Linked DNA regions of Homo sapiens: region 1 is linked to region 2. Evidence: promoter capture Hi-C in 16 types of primary human blood cells and fetal thymus (Javierre and others, 2016). All regions are on one chromosome and are shown on one strand. The core of a region is centred on a gene start or on the middle of the fragment in contact, and the rest is flanking DNA. Distances in the headings are between cores, read along the strand shown.

Region 1 (6,784 bases), core at 3,948-6,447, 36 kb after region 2:
TAAAAATTAGCTGGGCATGGTGGCACTGCCTGTAATCCCAGCTACTTGGGAGGCTGAGGCAGGAGCATCACTTGAACCTGGGATGCGGAGGCTGGAGTGAGCCAAGATAGCACCGCTGCACTCTAGCCTGGGTGACCAAGTGAGACTCTGTCTCAAAAAATAGAAAAAAAAATTGCTAAGACAGTAGTAGGTTTTAAGTGTTCTCATCACCAAATAAATGATAAATATGTGAGGTAATACATATATTAATTAGCTTGATTTTTTTTTTTTTTTTTTTAAGAAATGGGATCTTGCTGTGTTTCCCAGGCTGGTCTCAAACTCCTGGGGTGGAGCAATCCTCCTGCCTTGGCCTCCCAAAGTGCTGAGATGACAGGTGTGAGCTACTGTGCTTGGCCTAATTAGCTTGATTTAGCTATTCCACAATGTATACATATTTTAAAACATCATGTTGTACACCATATATATATACAATAATAAAAAGAGAGTTTGCAAAAATATTTTATCTACATCATGTTATAGCAGAGGACTTCCAGAATTTTTCAATTGTAATCATGGGTGAATTTATAAGTCTTATTTTTTTGAGACAGAGTCGAGACTCTTTCGCCCAGGCTGGAGTGCAGTGGCACAATCTTGGCTCACTGCAACCTCTGCCTTCCAGGTTCAAGCGATTCTCCTGCCTCAGCCTCCCGAGTAGCTGGGATTAAAGGCATGTGCTACCACACCCAGCTAATTTTTGTATTTTTAGTAGAGATGGGGTTTCACCATGTTAGCCAGGCTGGTCTCAAACTCCATACCTCAAGTGATCCACCCGCCTCGGCCTTCCAAAGTGCTGAGATTACAGGTATGAGCCACCATGCCTGGCCCCTCTCTTAGCAATTTTCAAGTGTACAATACATTGTTATTTACTACAGTCACTGAGTAGCTTGGCCAAAGGCATGCCTGTTCTAGGCGGAGAAGCAGAATTCTAACCTGGGGCTGTCTGGAGTGAAAGTCCTGTGATTTCTCCAGATAGGTCAAATTAGCTTTGACATATATGAGTTATTGCTGCTGGTCTGATTGAGTAAGAAAGGGCTGTCATCTTAAGTACTAAATATGTTCACACCTTTTAAACAACCTCGTTGATAGTGTGTATCTTTTAGGTGTCTATTTTTCTGTCTTTGGGAATTTCACTGAAAACGACTCTCCCACTGTTTTACTTAGCCTCCTTTAGTAGCAGTTTTTATTGGGGGAATATCCCAGATATGGTTTGGCTGTGTCCCCATCCAAATCTCTTCTTGAATTATAGCTCCCACAATTCCCGTGTGTTGTGGGAAGGACCTGGTGGGAAGTAATTGAATCATGGAGGTGGGCCTTTCCTGTGCTGTTCTCATGACAGTGAATAAGTCTCTCATGATCTGATGGTTTTATAAAGGGGAGTTTCCCTGCACACGCTGTCTTCTCTTGTCTGCTACCATGTGAGATGTGCCTTTCACCTTTTGCCATGATTGGGAGGTCTCCCCAGCCACATGGAACTGTGAGTCCATTAAACCTCTTTCTTTTGTAAATTGCCCAGACATATCCAATTGCCATGCCAGTTGGGTATGTCGTTATCAACAGCTTGAAAATGGACTAATACAGTCCCTTTGTGGCAATAGGGTGTATCAGTTTCCCACTGCTGCTGTAATAATTTACCACAAACCCAGTGGCTTCAGACAACACAAATTCATCACCTGACCTCCAGTTCTGGAGAATAATTGCTCCCAGAGATGTCCACATCCTACTTCCCAAGACCCCTGAGGCGGTGACAGGGGAGCCTGTTCTGGAGGTTGGAAAGCTGAAGCGGATCTCCCAGGCTGAAATTCAGGTGTCAGCAGCTGCGCTTCTTCCTGGAGGCTCTTGGGGAGAATCTGTTTTCTTGTCTTTTCCAGCCTTGAGGGGCATCCACATGTCTTGGCTCATGGCCCTTCCTCCATGTCCAGAGCCATCAGGCTGGTGAGGTCTTCCTCACTCTGAACTTGATTCTCTGGCCTCCCTCTTCCACTTGTAACGACCCCTGTGGTTATGTTGAGCCTGCCTCGATAGTCTACCGTAATACCCCTCCCCTGTCCCAGCCTCATGGGTCCTGGGAATTAGGATGTGGACATCTCTGGGAGCAATTATTCTCCCTACCACAGATTCATGTCCTTACCATATGAGAAAAATCTTCACTCTGTCTCAACATCTCCCAAAGCCTAAACCCCTGGTGAACCACCTCTACTGGGCGGGCGTTTCTATGTCTCTCTGTGTTTTTGGAAAAGTTCTTACAGGTCTGTAGTAAGAAATTCAAACAATATAAAATGTTACAGAGTGAAAAGTAAGTCTCACTCCCAACCCAGATTTTTTTTTTTTTTTGAGGCGGAGTCTCGCTCTATCACCCAGGCTGCAGTGCGGTGGCGTGATCTCAGCTCACTCCAACCTCTGCCTCCCGGGTTCAAGTGATTCTCATGCCTCAGCCTTCGGAGTAGGTCGGATTACAGGTGTGCCCCACCACACCTGGCTAATTTTCGTATTTTTACAAAAATAGAGACAGAATTTTGCCGTGTTGCCCAGGCTGATCTCAAACTCCCGGCCTCAGGTGATCTGCCCTCCTTGGCCTTCCAAAGTGCTGGCATTACAGGTGTGAGCCACCGCACCTGGCCCATCCCAGATCTGTAGTCTTCCAGGTCTCTTTCCCAGAGGTGACAACAGTTATTATTTTGTGTACTATCACAGATGCTCTGTGCATATAGAAATGTGTGTTTATGGCTTTTGTTTTTGTGCAAGCATCTTTTGTTCACCAATATGCGTTTTTTTTTTGGCCAGTCTTTCTATGTGAGTACACACACACACACACACACACACACACAGAGCTCCAAAAAAAAAGAGTTGGTCTTCACCAATGCACAAGTAAGTTGCTTCTCAAACTGTGCTACTTTTAGCAGCCTTGCTGGAGCCATGTGTATTATTGTTGAGCTTAATATCTGGAGGCTGAATTCATAGCAGTGGAATTCTAGGGTGAGAGTGACCTAGATAGAGAGAAAGAAGATGAGATCTGCTAATTTACATGACAAAAACAATTCAAAGGCCAGTAAAAGGAAAGATCAGTATCTTCTCCTTTAAATATCTTGATAGAAATAGCTTGTTTGAGAAATCTAACTGGGTGAACTCCAGTTAGATCTGGTCTGTTGGGTGATTTGTAGGCCATAGTCTCTCTGAAATTTTTAGGTGACCTTTGGGAGTCCTTTCGGGGAGTCGCTTTTGATAAGCACATCATTCAGCCTGAGATGGGCAGGGCTAATGCCCTGTCCTGCCCATCTGCGCTCATGAAATGTTCATCAAGGAAGCAGGGAGTGGACTCACACACTGCCTCCCATCCGCACAGGACGCGTCACTCGGAATATACATACTCCCTTTGCAAATTCTTTCCCACTTTATGCGCTCAGCATCTTGTGTTATTTTGGCCCTTATCCTAGTTGAGCCTGTCATAATTTATCACCCCTGCTGTACTGAACAGTTCTTGAGGATATTATCAAGGTTGTCTGTACCTCTCTCTCCCCTGTTGTTGTCCCAAGCTAGCACGGTGCCTGTTGGTGTTGATGAACAATAGGACTCAGTTTGGAGAGCCCTTTTTTTGTCATGAATTTTGATGATGGCAGATTAGCCCATTTCCTAGGAATGATAAGCTTGGCTTTGATTGATAGATGAGGCTAACAATATTTTTTATTTGCTAAAGTTTAAAATGAATTAATTGAAAGATAGCCCTGACGACAGTGGTTGGGGCCTCCCGTGATTCCTCTTGGTGTTGTGTTTATTGTAGTGATACCTATTCTGCTATCCAGGAGAGGTGGATGCAGCTAAATGTACAGCAACAAACAGCTCCGGCGATCTGGGAACTTCAGTGTTTAAGATCCTTGCTTGGGAATGGTTGGTGAAGGCTGTTTTTAGGGCTAAATTCTGCTTTGTGACTGTCATCGTTTTGCAGGCCACCGAATCCCTTTTGGAGTCATCTTTGGTGGAACTGATGTAAATGAAGATGCCAACCAGGCGGAAAAAAACACAGTCATGGGCAGAGTTCTTGAGGAAGCCAGGTAATACCTGCGAGAATTTCATCCATGCCAAACATTTAAACTGTGTGAATTGAATTAATTGAAACCAAAGACCGAGGGCACCAATTGCCGGGAAGGTTTACATCTTAGCACTTAAAACCAATTTCATGTAACCTTTTCTTTCATTTGGTACATTTTTATTTGGCCACAAATAGTCATTGCTAACAGGTTATTGCACTTAAGTCTTCAACTACAGTTAATATTAGATAAGCCTCTTTAGAATGGTCTGCATGGAGCCAGGCATAGTGAGGCACGCCTGTGGTCCCAGCTGCTTGGGAGGCTGAGGCAGGAGGATTGCTGGAGCCCAGGAGCCCAAGGCTACAGTGTGCTATGGTTGCAATCCAGCCTGAGTGGTAGAGCAAAGCCCTCTTTTCAAAAAAACAAGTGTTCTGGATGTAGAAAACACGAATCACAGGCAAACTCCAGCCTTAGCAGCACACAAATTAGGATCTAGTTTGCATCAGGTTTGCCCAAGTAGACTATCTTTGGCATGGGTCTTATCTATGTAGCTTTCTGAGCTATATATGCCATTTGCAAGAAGGGTCACCAACAGGATTTCTAAACTGTGGCTTAGGCCTTTTCCTTGGGTATGGCCCTCTAGCTGTCCCAGGGACCTGAGAGGTAGCTGCTGTGAGAACAGCTCTACATGCTCTAAGTGGGGCTTCTTACAGGGGTCACTGTGATAATCCTGGGGGCTGCCCTGCACGTCTCTGATCCCAGATACTGATCATGGGCAGCAGCCTCCAGGTACCACAACTACCTTAGTATGTCTCCCTATAATTCTAATGCCCCCAGGGTGGGGGAAGTTATTATCCCCAGTTGAGAATTCCTTCCAGCGCTGTACTTCCCAACTTTTCCATGTCAATACGGTGAAAGGAGGTTCATCGGAGGCTGTTGTTCTGGACCAGCCCCCGCACTGTCCCCCAGCGGACTAGCCCAAGACAGAAAGGAGTCACTTGTGCTGAGCGCTATGTAATCAAACTGAACTTTGAAATGGGTCAGCCTTCTTTCTCTCTTCTCTTCTCTTTTCCTGACAGAGTCTCATTCCGTTGCCCAGGCTGGAGCGCAATGGCGCGATCTTGGCTCACTGCAACCTCAGCCTCCCGGGTTCAGGCGATTCTTGTGCCTCAGGCTCCCGAGTAACTGGGATTATGGGCGCCTGCCACCACAGTCGGCTAATTTTTGTATTTTTAGTAGAGACGGGGTTTCACCATTTTGCCAGGCTGGTCTCAAACTCCTGGCCTCAAGCGATCCACCTGCCTCGGCCTCCCAAAGTGCTGGGATTACGGGCATGAGATACCGTGCCCAGCCTGAAATGGGCCAGTTTTCTAAAAGGCAAGAAATTCCAGGCAACTTCAGTCAGCAGAATAGGGAAGTCTTCTCTGCTTTAACCCTGTAGGGAAAGTAACTCTGAAATGCCCCATCTGCTTTTTGTTTCCTGTGTCTGCTTTCTTCAGCCCTTGTCTGTCTGTAAAACACGCCTTCTCTGCGCAGCTCATCAGAACACTCATTCTGTTTTGTAGAATGAGGTGCTGCCCAATTCTAGAATTGCTGATAAAGGCCCATTATAATCTTTGAACTCAATTTGTTGTCATTGTGTCTTTTGACAAGGCATACTTAGAAAATTATCATATTTGTATAGCAATTTAAAGTGGATTAAAAGCCTTGATTAAAAAAATCACTCCCATTTCTTTGTCTAACGAATAACAATAATAAGAATTAAAATAATGATAAAATCAGGCCGGGCACGGTGACTCAGGCCTGTAATCCCAGCACTTTGGGAGGCCTGAGGCAGGTGGATCACTTGAGGTCAGGAGTTCGAGACCAGCCTGGCCAACACGGAGAAACCCCATCTCTATTAAAAATACAAAAATTAGCTGGGTGTGGTGGTGGGTACCTGTAATTCCGGCTACTTGGGAGGCTGAGGCAGAAGAATCACTTTAACCCAGGAGGTGGCCAGGTGCGGTGGCTCACACATGTAATCCCAGCATTTTGGGAGACTGAGGCAGGTGGATCACCTGAGGTCAGGAGTTCGAGACCAGCCTGGACAACAGGGTGAAACTCCATCTCTACTAAAAATACAAAAATTAGCCGGACATGGTGGCCTGTGCCTGTAGTTCCAGCTACTTGAGAGGCTGAGGCAGAAGACTTGCTTGAACTCGGGAGGCAGAGGTTGCAGTGAGCTGAGATCGTGCCATTGCACTCCAGCCTGGGAGACAGAGCATGACTCCATCTCAAAAACAAACAACAGCAACAACAACAAAAGAACCCGGGAGGTGTTGGTTGCAGTAAGCAAGATGTTGCCATTGCACTCTAGCCTGGGTGACAGAGCGACACTGTCTCAAAAAAAAAAAAATTTAATTAATTAAAAAAATAAAAAATTAAATAAAATAATGATAAAAGCAATATGAATCTTCCATGATCATATGAAAATTGTGAAAAAAAGCGGAAATTAAATCAAAAGAACTACCTATACATGCATACCCAAAACAAAGAACTTTTCTGATCAGTCATGAGGTGCTCAGTGGGCTTCCTCGGGGTTTGGCTGGACAGTCAAGGGGGTTCTGTGCAGTTTGTCCTCCCACATGTTCACTGGCTGCTGGTGTTAGAAGAAAGCTTCACCTGTGTCTAGAATAACCCTGAAACCACAGTTTACAGTTGGTCCAACAAGTACTGCCTAA
Region 2 (6,673 bases), core at 3,587-6,086:
TGTAATCCCAGCACTTGGGAGGCGAGGAGGGTCTGCGGATCACTTGAGGTCAGGAGTTCGAGACTGCCCTGGCCAAAATGGCGAAGCCCCGTGTCTACTAAAAATGAAAAATTATCTGGGTATAGTGGTGTGTGCCTGTTATCCCAGCTACTCAGGAGGCTGAGGCAAGAGAATTGCTTGAACCCAGGAGGCGGAGTTTGCAGTGAGCGGAGATCCTACCACTGCACTCCAACCTGGGGGACAGAGTAAGACCCTGTTCTCAAGAAAAAAAGGAGGAGGAAAGAGGAATTTGCCCCCCCTTCCCCACCCCCCTCCATTTTCCCCACTGCCTCACTGCTTGAGCGGGCACATTTCATGTCATCTTCTCAGCAACCACCCCCACCATTCCCCCTCCTCCCTCAAACTGGGATTTACACCATTGCTCAGGCCTTCAGACTGGAACTGAATTACACCACCAGCTTTCCTGGTTCTCCGTATGGCAGACAGCAGATCAGGGTTCTTCTCAGCCTTCATGATTACATGAGCCAATGCCTCATAATAAATCTCCATTTACGAATATGAATTTCCCATTAGTTCTGTTTCCTTGGAGAACCCTGACTAATACAGGTATCTACTGGCATTTGGGGAAAAGCATTTTTTCTTTAGGCAGGGATGTCCTATACGTTGCAAGGTGTTAAAACTTCTGGGCCTAGTTGTGAAATATTGACGACATTCCTTAATCATTCTGACAACAAATTTCCTTCTCCATCCCCAAATTTCCAAAAGTCCTCTGGAGAGCAGTTCTGAATCTGGTTCAACCACTCATAAGCTGTAGAGAGACTAGAAAAGAGATAATCACAGAGTCAGGCAATTTTTACCTGCAAGATTTTAAAAAACAGAGTTTTTAAAGTTCTTCGTAGTTTCTTATATTACTGAATTCCTTCCTTCCTTTCATCCCTGCCTCCCTCCCCATCCCTCCTTCCTTCCTTTGTTCCTTTCTTTCTTCTTACTTTTATTACTTCTTTTGTATCATCAAGAATGAGTGTTGAATCCTACTGAATGTTCTTATTCCACCCATTGAGAGGGTCATATGTATTTCTGTTACCGGAAAGGGGTCCTATTTCAGACCCCAAGAGAAGGTTCTTGGATCTCACACAAGAAAGAATTCAGGGCGAGTCCATACAGTAAAGGGAAAGCAAGTTTATTAAGAAAGTAAAGGAATAAAGAATGGCTATTCCATAGACAGAGCAGCCCGAGGGCTGCTGGTTGCCCATTTTTATGGTGATTTCTTGATGATATGCTAAACAAGGGGTGGATTATTCATGCCTCCCCTGTTTAGACCATATAGGGTAACTTCCTGACGTTGCCATGGCATTCCTAAACTGTCATGGCGCTAGTGAGAGTGTAGCAGTTGAGGACAACCAGAGGTCACTTTCATTGCCATCTTGGTTTTGGTGGGTTTTGGCCGGCTTCTTTACTGCAAACTGTTTTATCAGCAAGATCTTTGTGGCCTGTATCTTGTACCGACCTCCTATCTCATCCTGTCACTTAGAATGCCTTAACCTCCTGGGAGGCAGCCCAGCGGGTCTCAGCCTCATTTTACCCAGCCCCTATTCAAGAGGGAGTTGCTCTGATTCAAATGCCTCTGCCATTTCCTCTTTTAATCTATTAATTTAGATTGCTATGGCAGAGGTGACTTACTGCAAACCTATTCTGCCACTTTTCTTTAGTAACCACGATTGTATTTAGGTGGCAGTGTACCCAGTTAATAGACCGCATGTCTTAGCCTCCTTGGATGCAAGAAATGGCCACGTGGCCAACACAATAAAGGCATAGGGCTGTTTGCATTTTTAGGAAGACACTTTAAAATAAAATACACCATCTGGAGTGCACCACTTTTGCCTTTCCTTCCTTCCTGCTGCCTGGAATGTTGATGTGATGGGTGGAGCTGTAGCAGTCCTACTCCTTATCAATTCCTTGATAAGGTGATCTTGAGACTAGAAGCTAAACACTAGCATGATGGAGTAGACAGAGGAAAGTCTGGGTTCCTGGTGATGGTACAGCCACTATATTAGGCTTGGGCCACCTTCTTCTGAACTTAATTTACGTAAAAATAAACTTCAAATTTTTTCTAAACACAAGAATACAGATCGAGGTTATCAAGGAATTGAAGTGAGCCTTCAAGCACTGTGTGAAATGGCACATTCAGATTTCATCTTAAGCAGGCAGCTGCTTCCCAGCTTCAGTCAGCCACAGGATGGTGGCTTCATTTAATCAGATCTCTCATTTTTTAACAGATATCAGAAATTCCAACTTCTATATGAAAGCTCCCAATTAAAAAATGGTGGCTTGGCCAGGTATAGTGGCTCACGCCTGTAATTCCAGTACTCTGGGAGGCTGAGGTGAGTTGACTGCTTGAGCCCAGGAGCTCAAGACCAGCCTGGACAACATAGTGAGACCCCACTTCTACAAAAAATACAAAAAATTAGCCCAGCATGGTGGTGCACATCTATGGTTCCAGCTACTTTTTTGGAAGGCTGAGATGGGAGGATCACTTGAGCCCAGGAGGTGGAAGCTGGAGTGATCCATAATCACACCACGGCACCCCCAGCCTGGATGACAGAGTGACACTGTCTCAAAACAAACAAAAAATAATAGCTCAGCTTTTATGAAAAACACGGTGTAGCCTAAATACATCTAAGGATGATATTGAGCCCACAAGGCTGCCAGTTCAACTCTCCTTAGGGAGGTTCCTTTCTGGGCTCATGCTGAAGTCGCCTTTGTAAAATCAGAAATGTATCTGTTCACATTTAGCTTTTAATATCCCATGGGCAAGGTGAAATAGGGGAAGATCATGGGCAAGTGCCCCCCTCTACTTCTGTATACCACACCAGACACTGCGTTTTATTGCCTCTTCTTGGTGTGTAGCAAATATATCAGGAGTCCACTCAAAACTTATTTATTTATTTAACACTGAGTCTTGCTTTACTGCCTAGGCTGGAGCGCAGTGGCATGATCGCGGCTCACTGCAACCTCCGCCTCCTGGGTTCAAATGATTCTCATGCCTCAGCCTCCCAAGTACCTAGGACTACAGGCTTGTACCACCATGCCCATCTATTTTTCTATTTTTGGTAGAGACGGGGTTTTGCCATGTTGGCCAGACTGGTCTTGAACTCCTGGCCTCAAGTGATCCACCCACCTCGGCCTCCCAAAGTGCTGGAATTATAGGAGTCAGCCGCCGTGCCCGGGGTCAAAACTCTTTTTCTAAAATGTCGTTAGAAGGGGGTTGTGACAGCTCTGTGCAACTTGTCCCCTTTCCTGTTTGCTTATGTAATTCTGTTGGAAAGTATTAAGTTGTTTAGCAGAATGATAATATTTTCAGATCGCTTTTGTCCTTTAAAAAGGATGTGGCCTGCCTGCCTGGTGCCTGGGAAGCTGAAATACCAGGAAGAAGAGCAAAATCCTGGGTGTTTTTTTGAGAGTGAGAGGAGGACAGGATTTTGATTGTTCTACAATGATATACAACTCTTCCCTACTCCATGCCACACTGAGAGGCAGAGTGGTGGACGTACCTGGGAGAAGCCTGCGGAGCCGAATGTGCCCTCCAGGATGGACTTTTATATCTTGATAAGCCTGGGGGTCACCATGCTGCGTAGGGAGGCCGGAGACCTGCCACTGACGGTGGTTATCCCATGTCATGGCTTTCTTCATTCCCACTTTACCTTTTTGAGGCTGGAAGGTATTTAGGGGATGACAGAAAATCAAGTTTGAAGGTCAATGGAAATATTGGGCACCCACTAGAATGTCCCACATCTGTAAATACATGTGCATCTTTGTAAACACTTAACAGCTGTTTTGGGGAGTGCTTGTTTAAATCCACAGATGGCATTTTGCCAGAGGCCTCCTTCAGTTCCCTATTTCTCTCACTCAAGGTATCCTAGTTTGGAGATCCAGACCAGGTGCAGCCCATGTACCCTGATGAACCCCAGGTTCCCCTCTCCAACATCTTTCTCACCCGACAGGTGCGGCCCTGAAATGGGTTTCTACTGTCTCCTCACACAGTCCCCATGTTCCCCTCCTCGGGTTAGTTTTAGGGTAGTCTAGCCTGGGAAGGAATTTGGGACTGATCATGCCACGTTCCCTGGAATGGGACTAGAAAGGAATCCTGGGCTTCGTGCGGACCAAGGCCCCACTCAGGTTGTCATGGAAAATGAGGCTGAGAGCCCCTCTCTGCAGCACCCTGTGGGACGGAACCCGAGGTCTCTGCTGGTCCCGGTGGGCACAGACCTGCAGCCAACCCGGTGTTCCGTGAAGCCCTGATTTCCCAATGAAGCCCATGGAAGCCATCACTGGTTTCCATGGGAGCGGACCATGGCCACCCCTGCTCCTGTTCCCTGTGGGAAAGGACCAAGGCCGCCCCTGGTCCTGGTCACTGTGGGAAGGGACTGTGGTCACCGCTGGTCCTGGTCCCCTTGGGAGGGACTGTGGTCACCGCTGGTCCTGGTCCCCGTGAGAATGGTCTGTGGTCACCGCTGCCTGTTCCCTGTGGAAGGGAACGTGGTCACTGCTGGTCCTAGTCCTCTTGGGAGGGACTGTGGTCACCGCTGGTCCTGGTCCCCGTGTGAGGGACTGTGGTCACCGATGGTCCTGGTCCCCGTGGAAGGGACTGTGGTCACCGCTGGTCCTGGTCCAGGTGGAAACAGACCGCGGCTACCCTGGTGATGGACCCCACGGGGCACACCCGCGCCACCCCGCACCCAGGGCTCGCGCCGCCCGAGGCCCCCGGTTCCTGTCCCCCTCCCCGCCTGGCGCCGGAACCTGCGAGCTGGGGCGCGGCCTCGGGGAGGGGCGGGCGGGACAGACCCAGCCGCCCCGGCTCCCCCGCCGTCCGCGTCTGCGCCGGCCCCGGGGCCTGGTCGGCGGCGGCGGGGCCGGTCGATGGCCCGGGCGGCGGCGGCGGCATGCGGCTCCTGTTCCTGGCGGTGCTGCGGCCACACACCGGCAACGCGGTCACGGCCCAGCGCGTTCGGTAGGTGCAGGGCGCCGGGGCCTACGAAGCCTGGGCCGGGGGCCGGGGGGCGGGGACGCGGGACCCGGGGACGCGGGGCGCTCAGCCAGGCCCCCTCCAGCCGCGCCGGGGCCGTCCCGAGCCGCGCGCACAAACGGATGGGCCGGTGCCGCCTGCCGGGCGCGCGGGGGTCGGTGCCTTCTGCGTGGCGCGCGTGTCCCCGGGTCTCCGTGCGGCCGGCGCATTGGCCTCGCGCTCTCCGGAGGGGACTGAGCAGGTGAACAGGCCCGGAGCCTGTCGTGGAGGGGCCCGGGAAGGCCTCGCTGCAGAAGCAGGATGGGAGCAGGATCCGCAGGGATGCGCAGCGGGGTCCGCGGAGCTCCCGGCGGGGGCGCGTTTCCAGGCCGGGGACCGCGGTGCCAGCCCTGCCCTCGCGGATCGGGTCTCGGCTGTGTGCCGGCGTCCGGGGTCCTGTCCCCGAAGTCCCTTTCCCACCTCCCCTCTGCCCTGTCTATTCTCGTCTTCCTGGCTGGTTAGCTCCTTCACACTCATCTTTTTCTGCCTTTGTCTTATTTGTTTACTTGTTGGTCTGTGTTCTGGTCGCTGGAACGCAAGCCCGGCGGGGGCCCGGGGAGGGGCCGCCGCGTTAATCCCGCCGCCTCCCACCCGCACAGCGGGCGCTCGGCCTGTATTAGCCGGATAAACATATTCCTTGAGGCGAAGCCTGGGAAGTGCCAGGATTAGAGCCTGCAGCTTAACAGAAGCCGTGTGTGTGTGTGTGTGTGTGTGTGTGTGTGTGTGTGTGTGTGTAAAAGCGGACTTGCTTCATGAAATTTCCCGATTTACTTCCCTTCTGTGGGCCTGTTTCCCCATCAATTTATTTTTTTGAAATGGAGTCTCGCTGTGTCACCCAGGCTGGAGTGCAGTGGCGCAATCTGGGCTCACTGCAACCTCCGCCTCCTGGATTCAAGCATTCTCCTGCCTCAGCCTCCCAAGTAGTTGGGATTACAGGTGTGCACCACCACGCCCGGCTGATTTTTGTATTTTTAATAGAGACAGGGTTTCACCATGTTGGCCAGGTTGGTCTCGAACTCCTGCCCTCAGGTGATCCGCCTGCCTCGGCCTCCCACAGTGCTGGGTTTACAGGTATGAGCCACTGTGCCCGGCCTCCTCATCATTAAAATGAGCAATTGAGACTCCACCAACACTTTCATGTCCCTTTCAGCTAATTTCTCCTAAAGATCATAAGCAGAAATGACCAAGAGAGGATCCATCAGTTTTCTGAAATTTGCTGGAAAATTTACACTCAGGTTTCATGGTGCAGGTTTCTATTAAATAGGTCAGTGATGCTCTGCTTGGGTTTAGCAGTGAGGAGCCCTTTGTGTTCCTGGCTCTGTTGGATGAACCAGCATCCCAGTATGGGAGAGGAATGAAGGAGGTGATTTCACATAGGGATTAGTGCTATTAAGAAAGCAAAACTAGGAGGCTGAGGCAGGAGAATCGCTTGAACCTGGGAGGCAGCTGTTGCAGTGAGCCAATTGATCTGGGATCACGCCACTGCACTCTAGCCTGGGTGACAGAGCCAGACTCCATCTAAAAAAAAAAAAAAAAAAAACAACAACAACAACAAAAAAAACAAAAAACCTAGGGCAGGCTTTCATGGCGGCTCAAGCCTGTAATCCCAGC

The links. Contacts are between HindIII fragments. The CHiCAGO score rates a contact against its expected background, and 5 or more counts as called.
Region 1: a fragment that was not itself captured here is called in contact with the fragment with the promoter of GLT1D1 in region 2 in 1 of 17 cell types (neutrophils); the score reaches 6.2 in neutrophils.

What each region holds. Positions count from the first base shown.
Region 1 is chr12:128,884,660-128,891,443 of GRCh38, forward strand. It overlaps GLT1D1 (glycosyltransferase 1 domain containing 1), which reads left to right. Exons shown (of 12, transcript NM_001366886.1): 3 at 3,980-4,085. Among named protein-coding and RNA genes, the nearest start is that of GLT1D1, 35 kb to the left of the region's middle. The HindIII fragment of the contact is 3,039 bases long and covers 3,679-6,717 here.
Region 2 is chr12:128,848,642-128,855,314 of GRCh38, forward strand. It overlaps GLT1D1 (glycosyltransferase 1 domain containing 1), which reads left to right and starts at 4,837. Exons shown (of 12, transcript NM_001366886.1): 1 at 4,837-5,008. The coding sequence starts at 4,941. It overlaps LOC100128276 (a long non-coding RNA gene), which reads right to left and starts at 4,454. Exons shown (of 3, transcript NR_148996.1): 1 at 4,435-4,454; 2 at 3,552-3,711; 3 at 530-819. RefSeq lists silencers at 4,816-4,915, 5,106-5,305 and an enhancer at 5,167-5,818. The HindIII fragment of the contact is 7,589 bases long and covers 1-6,673 here.